Linked DNA regions of Homo sapiens: all the other regions are linked to region 2. The links are contacts of gene promoters, found by promoter capture Hi-C in human tissues and cell types (Jung and others, 2019). All regions are on one chromosome and are shown on one strand. The core of a region is centred on a gene start or on the middle of the fragment in contact, and the rest is flanking DNA. Distances in the headings are between cores, read along the strand shown.

Region 1 (3,640 bases), core at 328-2,827, 75 kb before region 2:
ATGGATTAGCAGAGGGAAAGCCAGACCAAGGGAGAAGCTTTGTCCAAATGTCTTGGTTACTCATTAGCCAAACCTCAGAGCTTCTCTCTGCAAGGGGGGATCAGAGGGGCAATTAACCCATTTGGAAGAAAGGTTAAGCTAAATAGCTCTCTAATCCTGCGGTTTCAAAAGATAGCAAGTAGGGTTTCTGGAATCTTTAGATACTGTAAGGCAAGCACAGGGGATGGGGCACGGGAAAGGAGAGGCCATAGACTGAGGGAGGCACTGATACTTATAGAGCCCCTACCTGTTTCATACCCTTCATTCCGATCCATCCTAGGCCAAGCCCATTTTGCCCAGAGGGTCCCCATCTGGATTCAGATAGGTTAAGTGTTTTGCCCAAGGTCACAAAAAAGGTGCAAAGAAAGTGTTTTTCTTTGTGCAACAGGTACAGTCCTTTCCCTTCCAAAAGATAATGGCTGCTCCTGGCTAGAGAAAGTTCAGTCCCGGCAGGCAGGAAGCCCTAGCCACCTAGGCGTCGCGCGGTGGAGGTCACACGCCTGCTCCGGGACTGGACAAACAGCAGGGTTTTAAGGCGCGGCGTCCCCACTCCCAGGCGAGTTTGTGCCAGCAGGGTGTGAAAAGGTCAGGCTCGGGTGGGGGTCAACGAGCCGCTTCCCATCCCGAGGGCCCCACCCGTGAGCCCGGGTGGGCCGCGCCGCCATCGGGGCGGGGACCACGCGGGCCTGCCTGGTAACAGGGGGACTGAGGCTTAATCCCATCAGGGCGCCTCCGCCCTGGGAAGACGAGCGGAGGGGGGGCGCAGGCCAGGCCGAGAGGACGTGTCCGGAGCCTCCGCGTCCGAGGGGCCCCGCGCGCCGCCCCTCTCACGCCCCCCGAACCACCGCGCTGTCCTCCGGGCTCCCCTCGACCAGGGTTCCGTCTCGCTCGCCGCCCTTGCTTCCCACTTCCACCTCCGGGGCCTCCAACCCGCACAAATGTCCAGACCCTAGCAGCTCCAGGCTGAGTAACCCAGATCTCCAGCGATCCCTCAGCTCCTAGCCACGGGATCTCTCTGAATCCATTCCCAAGGCTCAGGCTGGCATGGGAGGAGATTGATCCTCTCGCTCCCAGTCTCGAATCACCCTTCGCCGTCACCCCTGACTGGGGATCCAGTGGGACCCCAGGCCTCCAGCGCCCGATCCCCTCCAGGGATCGACTCCCAAGTCGCCAACCAGGTGGCACGTGATCCATTGGTTGCCCTGTGCGGGATCTTCCCGCGGGATCCACTCTCAAGTCTCGGGAGACGGATTCCCCGGCTCCCAAACCGGGATCCTCCCTCCCTGCAGACCCGGAGTCTGGGGAAATCCTCCGGCTCCCCGCCTCTTCCCCGGCCAACTTTGCCAACTTTTCTCCCGGGGCCTCGGCCGGGCAGAAACTTGGCGGCCCTCGCCAGCCGCCGTCACCCCCAGCTACCTCGTCGGCCGGGGACAGGAGGCGGCCAGCCGGCCCCCACTGCCCGCAGCCGCTGCGCAACCTACCGTGGAGCCACCGCCAGCCCGCGCCGCGCCGCCACCTGCCCGCAGCCCGCGGCACCTGCCCTGGGAGCCCGCAGCCCCGCGCAGCCTAGCCTGCTGGGGGCGGGGCCTCGAGCGGGGACGCGCCCCCGTCACCATGGGAACTGCCGCCGGCCGCGCCTGCGCGGAGGGGAGCAGAGCAGGCAGGACCCGAGTCCGCAGTGGCGCCTGGGCCTGGGACCTCTCCGGCGGGTCAGAGGTCACGACTCGCTTGGACACCCCTGCCGGAAGCGCTCCCGCCCCTCGAGGCCCGACCCCGCTCTGTCCAATTGGGAACTTTGCTCCGGGTACCCTCCCGCGTTCCCTGGATGTTCCCCAGTCACCAGCCAGGATCCCCCGCCACCGGCACCGACCCGCTGCCCAGCCGGCGACCCCGAGAGCCTAATGCAACCCAGGATTTCAGGAGGCGCTCCATAAATGTGGGCCCACTGACTTGCCTGGGCTGCTGGTGCCGGCCCGGGGGCGGGCAAGGTCTGTGCGCGGTGCTGGCGCCTCCTCGCGCCAAGCAAGGGCACTGCACCTGAGAGTTCGCTGGAGCGCCTACTGTGTGCGCATCCTCCTGCCATTATGTTGTGGGTGTGAGTTGTGGGGTAATGGGTACAGGAACTTGTGGACAAGTTGAGAGAATCGTAGGAAGTCGCCTCTGAAAGAGAAAATACCTGTTCTGTTATCCGTTACTCATTTCATTCAGCAGATCTTTATTAAGCACCTATTGCATGCTGGGTGCTGGAGAACCCAGTGGTGGGCAGCTGGCAAAATCCAGGCTGTTGTGCAGCTTACAGATATTCAAACAAATAATTTCACGAGTATATCAAATTGAATCTGTGACATGTGCTCCTATGGGAAATGTACAGAGCATGAATAACTGGAGGACCTAAAATCAATGTGCCTTTATTATAAGCAAGATAGACCTCAATAAAAAAAGAGAAAGAAAAGGACATCACAGGCTGCGCACGGTGGCTTGTAATCCCAGCATTTTGGGAGGCCGAGGCGGGTGGATCACCTGAGGTCATGAGTTTGAGACCAGCCTGGCCAACGTGGTGAAACCTCGTCACTACTAAAAATTACAAAAATTAGCTGGGCGTGGTGGCGGATGCCTGTGATCCCAGCTACTCGGGAGGCTAAGGCAGGAGAATGGCTTGAACCCGGGAGGTGGAGATTGCAGTGAGCCAAGAGCGCGCCACTGCACTCCAGCCTGGACGACAGAGCAAGACTCCATCTCAAAAAAAAAAAAAAGAAAAAGACATCACATTGTGTGGCTTCAGGAGGATTGGTGGGGAGACTTCTTGCCTCATTTTGCTCTTAAATTGTTGGGTGTGTGTAAGAAACAAGGGTAGCTCCTGTTCTCCACACCGTTTGCACTGCAACCCTTTTGAAGGTCTGATCATCACCATCAGACCCAGGCAGGGTAAACCCTGTTTACCAAACAGCAGCCCGAGAACCCCCAACTGACTTGTGTACAGTGCTGGAACCCAGGAATTGGGGGGCAGAGGTCCCATGAGGTCTCATGTCTCAAGACATTCTCCTTATCATCTGGGTATCTTGAGTACAGTCATCAAAAGGATCAAACCCAGTTGCTTTTACAGACAACTACCACTTCCAGAGAGAAGTCTGTGAGTAGGAGACCAGGAACGGCTGGGTTGAAACTTAAAATCCTTCAAAATCCACGTAAGTCAGGCCTTTACATGACGTGTATGTTATACCAGCAAAGGAAAATCGTTGATTGTCTGCTCTTCTCTCTAGACCTCCTGGAGGAAGGGACTTCTGTCTGTCTTTCACCTCCGATTCCCAGTGCCTAGAACAGGGCTTGGCACACAATAGGTGCTCAAAGAATGTATGCTGAGTGCATGAATGACCAACAGCTGATGACATGCCATCTGCTGCCCCTCCTCCCTAACCTTATGGGAACTTCCTGTCTCTCCTGGGCAAATCTCCATGAACCAGAATGCGTAGGCTGGGGGTTCTGTTCAATGGAATGTTCCATGTTTCTCAGCTCCCCAGCCAATGCAGGCTTCCACCTTGGCATCGCCTCTCCATTCCAGAACATAAGGATGGGAGGGGACAAGATAGTCCTCCTCCTGCCA
Region 2 (3,288 bases), core at 475-2,974:
TGGAGAGGATAACCACGTGCTATCTCTAGAGGGCAGATTAATATCAGCCAGTCAGGGAGACTGTAGGGAGGGCTGCTATTACCTCTACCTGTACAGCATCATTGCCTCTTCTGGTACCGGCCCCCTGATTTTCCCTTGAGAAATCACGCTCTCCACAACTGTCTGTGTGGTTTGTATGTGGATGACTCTGCCCACTACAGGACTCAGGTTGGAGTCACAGTGATTGGGGCAGAGATGGTCATGTGACCCAACCTGAGCCAATGAGAATTAGCCCTGGGACTTTTGTTGGAATTACTAGGTAACAGACACTTTTCTGAATGGGTTTCTAAGCCAGTGGGATATAGGGCAGTGGCTGCTGGGAGCCATCTTTGCCACTGCATAGGAAGCACCTGTCTGAGGATGGAACCATCATAGAAGCAAGCAGAGCCAAGAGCTGAAGAAACAGAGATTCCTATTTCGATCATCTGTATCCAGCCATGCCTGAAGCCACTGTGCCTCTAAGCTTCTCAGTTACACCAACAAATTTCCTTTTGTACTTGAACCAGTTTGAAGTGGGTTTCTATCACTTGCAGAAAGAGTTCTGATTTGTAAAGTGATCCAGCTGAACCAAGCTGAGCCAAAGTGGGATTCAGAGTCTGGCTGATTGCTAAGTAGGTGATGCCTCAAAGCTTCTCCTTGCATGGGAATTTTTGGGAACTTTTTCGGCTGAAAGAGGTGAGAGGAGTCAGATTCTAGCATTGTTGGAGAAATCCAGGACTGCTGAAGGGAGTGTTGTACACTCTCATAGAGGATAGAATGGAAGAATATCTGCATATTTGTTCTCAGGACATCCCAGGAGACATCCAGAAAAACAGGTAGACTGGGGCAGGGCAGAAGGAGCATAGCTGAAGTCCTCCACTTAGGCACATTGAGACAGTTAGGAACATTAAACAGTAAAGAGTTCCCCTTTGTGCCCTCAGGTTGATGAGGCTCAGACTTGCTCAGATTACATCAGAATAGGATCACATCAACAGCTTTCCCGCTGTAGACTTCGCTTTCTGCAAAGTAGTGAGCTCTCCATCACTCCAAGTGTGTAAGCAGATGCTACAACAGGAGAGGGGGCAATGGGTTATAGCAGCCTTTCTCACTGGTCCACGGACCATCAGCCCAAGAGTTACTTGGAATTTCTCCAACATGTGGATTCCTGGGTCCTGCACATACCTACTCAGTCAGGACCTCTAGGAAATAGTCCAGGAACTGATATGTTTTGCCACCTAGCCCAGGTGATTCTAATGCATGATAAGAGAATCTCCAGGCGGGGCGCGGTGGCTCATGCCTGTAATCCCAGCACTTTGGGAGGCCAAGGTGGGCGGATCACTTGAGGTCAGGGGTTCGAGAGCAGACTGGCCAACATAGTGAAACCCCATCTCTACTAAAAACACAAAAACTAGCCAGGAATGGTGGCACATGCCTGTAGTCCCAGCTACTCGGGAGGCTGAGGCAGGAGAATTGCTTAAACCCGGGAGGCGGAGGTTGAAGTGAGCCAAGATCATGCCATTGCACTCCAGCCTGGGCGACAGAAAGAGACTCAGTCTCAAAAAAAAAAAAAAAAAAAAAAAAAAGAAAGAAAGAATCTCCAGTAATATTAGCACTTCTCAAACTTTAAAGTATACACATGGTCTTGAAACCACGTTAAATACAGGTTCTGATTCAGGAAGTTTGGGATGAGAGACTCAGAATTTGCCCAGGTGCTGATGCTGGTTCACGGACCACACCCTGAGGAACCAGGGGATTGGATGACTCCAAAAATTTGATGCCAGCCCCCACCCCTTATATCCTATGGCTGATGACTGGACCACCCACTAGGACAGAAGCCCCGCAAGGACAAAAGGGTTCTATTTTCTCAGGCCAGGCCAGGTTGGACCAGGGGAAAACAAGATCAGTCTCATGAATTGGCTGAAGAGTTTCAAAGAGACAAAGGATCTATGGGCAAACAGAAGATGAGCTTGAGATTTAACTTTATATAATAAAACATTAAGTGTCATTTACTGAACAGTACCATGTGCAGGTGCCACATTCTGGCCACTTTAAACCATTACCTGAGCTGGTCCTTACCACAGCCATATAAAGTTAAGAACTGGAATTTCCACTGTGTGGGGGTGCAAACTGAGATGTGGTTGTTGTTAAATAATATTTCTGGGATTATTTTGCCTTCTAGGTGTATGGTAGGGCTGCACTTACTGTCCCCTTGTGGATGGGGCCAATGGGCTGTGAGTGGATATGACATGTGCTGCTTTTGGGCAGAGCCTTTTTATCGTAGGTTCCAACCTCTGCAGAGCTACCTTTCCCTGTCATTGTAACTGGCAACATTCAAGATGGTAGCTGCTCCATCACCCAGGCCCTTTAGTGTGGAAAAAACAGCCACCAGCTGACCCATGATAGAAACACAGCATGCATGATAAATAAACTTTTGTTGTAAAAAAGCCACTGAGGTTTTAGGACTGTTTGTTACTGCAGCATAACCTTGTTTATCCTGACTATTACATGTAACCTCTAACAGCTAGGATTTCATGGCCAGGATTTAACCTATATCTGCCTGAGTCCGCAGGTTATGCTCACTCTGAATTCAGTGCAGGGTAAGACATGGGCATCTACAGATCTCTGGTACATCCTTCAGCTCTCTCCATCTGCAGCTCAAGCCCCTCATACCTCTCATGGTTGCAGCCATTGGTCGAGCTACCATCAGCCGAGCCACTCTGTGAACAGGATGAACAGGAGGACTTCCGGGGACTGGGCTGCCACAGGGATGGGAGGTTGCTTACAGAGACGTCCATCAGATCCTGGGGCACTGTGGTGGATAGAAGGAGGGGCAGAAGAATCACCCTGGTTAAACCTATGTGGGTCACAGAAATCTCACCCTAGAGCAAGCAGCTCACCCGCCCCAGCCAGCACAGAGATAGGAAAAGACCCTGAAGATGACAGTAGGAAACAGCAGCCCTAATCATCCTTGAGTTTGCCTGATCCAATGAAAGCCACCACCAAAATCTGGGGCAGAGCTGATGACAGCCAAAGAGAGAAGAAGAGGACACAGAGAGCCAAGAGCCAAGAAACCAGGCCCAATCCCAGAGCAGGAGGCCAAGCCTTGCCATGTTGTCACTTAGTCATGCTCACAGGATGCTGCAGGAGGGAAGGGGAGCCTGCTGGATGATTCTGGAGAAGAGACAGGCCTCATGGCTGAGATGGAAGGGAGCCTGACTCAATAGATGAGGCAGGGCACCCAAGTGCCAGAGACCCAGTGAAGCCCCTGCT
Region 3 (3,464 bases), core at 778-3,277, 100 kb after region 2:
CAGTTACACGCGTCTAGGTCAGCCTTTCAAGTGAAGTACAGGAAGAAACAAAAAGAGATTTCCCCTATACTTTTCAGATGCAGAAGTCTCTTTCCTTTTCCTCTGCCCAGTGAGCCAAGTGATTTCTCAGGGCTTTAGGTCCCTCTGCCATTGCTGAGGCTGCAGGACAGCTTTGCAACTGGGGAGATAAAAACAAAACAAACCAAGGATGATCCCCTTACTCCTTGATGTGCAGGAGACCCCTTTCCCACTAGCCTAGCTAGAAATTTAGGTGGTTTATCACAGACTTTTTACTTTCAGTGCCTGCTGGACAGTTCTATGACTCCACATGCCCTTGGGTAAACCAGAAGAAAGAGGAGGAAAATTAACTTACTATAGTCACCCCATTGAAAGGGCCTTTGCAAAACTCATAACTGAGAAAATTATGACAGTGAAACAGATCAGACCTAACCGACCACACCTTGCTTCTAACGCCTAAGCTGTCTTTGTTCATTCCTGGGCATAGGCCAAACTAGTCTTGGGGAAGAATTGTTTATAGTTTAAATTCTGAAACAAAACTGATAATAGTCCTTTCCTGAAAAAAAGACGCTTCTTGCGTGGGGAACTGTCCTGCCTTTGTAGGACTAACAAATTAGCTACAAGATGAGAGATTACGGCTTAGGGGCCATGCAGCTTCTGGCCGCAAGAGTCTGAACCTCCCCAAGTTGCTTCTGGGAATAAAATCTCCGTTGCAAAACTTAAGATCAGTGCTTGAGATATTTTGCATACCCTGAATTCCGATGCAGCAGATGACACCACCCAGACTGATAATCTGGCTCAACCAGTCCTGCGATCTCATCCAGGAAGAGAAATCAGCAAGAACTCACTTCCACCCCCATGATTCCATCTCCAACCCGACCAATAAGCACTCCCTACTTCCTGAGCCCATACCCACCAAATCATTTTTAAAAACTCTGATCCCCGACTGGGCATGGTGGCTCACGCCTGTAATCCCAAGGTGGGTGGATCACTTGAGGTCAGAAGTTTGAGATCAGCCTGGCCAATATCATGAAACCCCGTCTCTACTGAAAATACAAAAATTAGCCTGGTGTGGTGGCATGCACCTGTAATCCCAGCTACTCAGGAGGCTGAGTCAGGAGAATCGCCTGAACCCGGGAGGCGAAGGCTGCAGTGAGCAGAGATCACATCACTGCACTCTAGCCTGGACGACAGAACGAGACTCCATCTCAATAAATACATAGAGATATAAATAAAATAAAATAAAATAAAGTTTCTTAAAAAAAATAGGAAATCTCCTGAAAAACCTTTTCAGAAAAATAGCCACAGGTGCATGTTTGGCTCGTGTTTTTCCCAGAAACAACCTAAATCTGGCTTGATAAACCTTGATTGATGTATTTGCCCCAGTCACTCATGTTGTAACCAGCAAAAGGGCCCAGCTGCTCACTGCTTGTAGAAAGAAGTCAAAATGATAATGACATGTGATTTAAAAAGAAAGAATTTTATAATCTATGCTAGCAAGGGCAAGAGCAGAGAGCAATTCCACTCTTCCACGTGAGGAAAGAACGCAGGGGTTTTTTTTGTTTGTTTTTTGCGACGGTGTCTTGCTCTGTCGCCCAATCTGGCTGGAGTGCAGTGGCGCAATCTCAGCTCACTGCAACCTCCGCCTTCTGAGTTCAAGCGATTCTCCTGCCTCAGCCTCCCGAGTTGCTGGGACTACAGGCACATGCCACCATGCCCAGCTGATTTTTTGTATTTTTAGTAGAGACGGGGTTTCCCCGCGTTAGTCAGGATGGTCTCCATCTCCTGACCTCGTGATCCTCCGGCCTTGACCTCCCAAAGTGCTGCGATTACAGACGTGAGCCACTGCGCTCGGATGAACGCAGGGGTTTTTATTTATTTTATTTTATTTTTTAAGATATTTATTTATTTGTTTATTTTTTGAGACAGAGTCTCACTCTTTCACCCGGGCTGGAGTGCAGTGGCGTGATCTCGGCTCACTGCAAGCTCCGCCTCCCGGGTTCACGCCATTTTGCTGCCTCAGCCTCCCGAGTAGCTGGGACTACAGGTGCCCGCCACCACGCCCGGCTAATTTTTTGTATTTTTAGTAGAGATAGGGTTTCACTGTGTTAGCCAGGATGGTCTCCATCTCCTGACCTCATGATCTACCCGCCTCAGCCTGCCAAAGTGCTGGGATTACAGGCGTGAGCCACCGCGCCCGGCCAAAGCGGTTTTTAAAGGGAGGATTTGGAAGGCAAAAGAGGCAGGGGGACTGGGAGGTGTCAGGTGGTGTGACCCCCTCCAGTGGCTTGTCCTGAATTATTTTTCCATCTGTGGAAGTGGCCGGCGTCATCATGGCTGGAGGAGGTGCATGGTTCGTATCAGGATCTGACTACTGAAGCTTCTAAGGAAATATGTGACCAGATAAGTGAGTATGGTGTGTGCTTACCAAACAACTAGGTAAATAAATGTGCATAAGGCATGGGGGCATAGAACAGGAAAAGAAAGGGGGTGGAGGTTCACAGCACATTCCAAGGCTGGATTTCAAGAGGAGAGGAAACACGTCTATACTTTGTCTAAGTTACATCTTCAGATTAGCAGAAGAGAGGAAAGGGGAAAGGAAAAAAAGTTTTAAAATGCGGTTTGAGGTTAGGCTGCTAAGCTGCTGGGTTACAGATTCAGCTTATATTTGAGCATGTGGAGTATGTATATTTATTTTAAAAATCTAGAGCATCTTGGTCAGCCACAGTGGCTCATGCCTGTAATCCCAGCACTTTGGGAGGCTGAGGCGGCTGGACCATGAGGTCAGGAGTTCAAGACCAGCCTGGCCAAGATGGTGAAACCCCGTCTCTACGAAAAATACCAAAATTAACTGGGCGCAGTGGCGGGTGCCTGTAGTCCCAGCTACTTGGGAGGCTGAGGCAGGAGGATTGCTTGAACCTGGGAGGCGGAGGTTGCAGTGAGCCAAGATCGCACCACTGTACTCCAGCCTGGGCAACAGAGTGAGTGAGACTCCCATCTCAAAAAAAAAAAAAAAAAAAAAAAATCTAGAGTGTCTTGTACATATCCTTTAATAACCTACTTTTAAAAACTTAATATATTTTAGATACATATGTATATGTGTACCTACTTACATCCTTAAAACTGACGTGATGATAAATAAAACCGCGGAATTTCTATCAATATGTAAATGCTCTTCTCAGAAAAGGCGGGCTCTTTGCTCCTGTGGTTGATGGGGATGATGCAGATGGTGGCAGAGGCTTCCATTTTTTGAGCATTCGTTGTGGGACCTGCCAGTGCTTCAAGCTCAATACACCTTCTCCCATTTAACCCTCACAGCTCAGGAGGGGGTCCTGCCGGGACCTCCACTGCAGACAGGAAAAGAGGAGAAAGTTGGTATCTTCTGAATTCTTTTGGCAAAAGGAGAAGGGAAGAGGGTTCCTGTGCAGGGCATGCAGGAAGGCAGG

The links. Contacts are between HindIII fragments. The study calls those that stand out against the background at their distance.
Region 1: the fragment with the promoter of KIAA1671 here is called in contact with a fragment that was not itself captured in region 2 in 2 of the 25 tissues and cell types used here (adrenal gland and thymus).
Region 3: a contact is called between the fragment with the promoter of PIWIL3 here and a fragment that was not itself captured in region 2, in 3 of the 25 tissues and cell types used here (H1 embryonic stem cells, adrenal gland and small bowel).

Annotation. Positions count from the first base shown.
Region 1 is chr22:24,950,653-24,954,292 of GRCh38, reverse strand. KIAA1671 reads right to left here and starts at 1,577. Exons shown (of 13, transcript NM_001145206.2): 1 at 1,521-1,577. RefSeq lists a silencer at 1,511-1,760. The HindIII fragment of the contact is 5,810 bases long and covers 1-3,640 here.
Region 2 is chr22:24,876,116-24,879,403 of GRCh38, reverse strand. SGSM1 (small G protein signaling modulator 1) reads right to left here. Exons shown (of 25, transcript NM_001098497.3): 13 at 2,689-2,827. Among named protein-coding and RNA genes, the nearest start is that of LHFPL7, 69 kb to the left of the region's middle. RefSeq lists a silencer at 3,195-3,288. The HindIII fragment of the contact is 3,659 bases long and covers 1-3,288 here.
Region 3 is chr22:24,773,283-24,776,746 of GRCh38, reverse strand. PIWIL3 (piwi like RNA-mediated gene silencing 3) reads left to right here and starts at 2,027. Exons shown (of 21, transcript NM_001255975.1): 1 at 2,027-2,425. The HindIII fragment of the contact is 9,839 bases long and covers 1-3,464 here.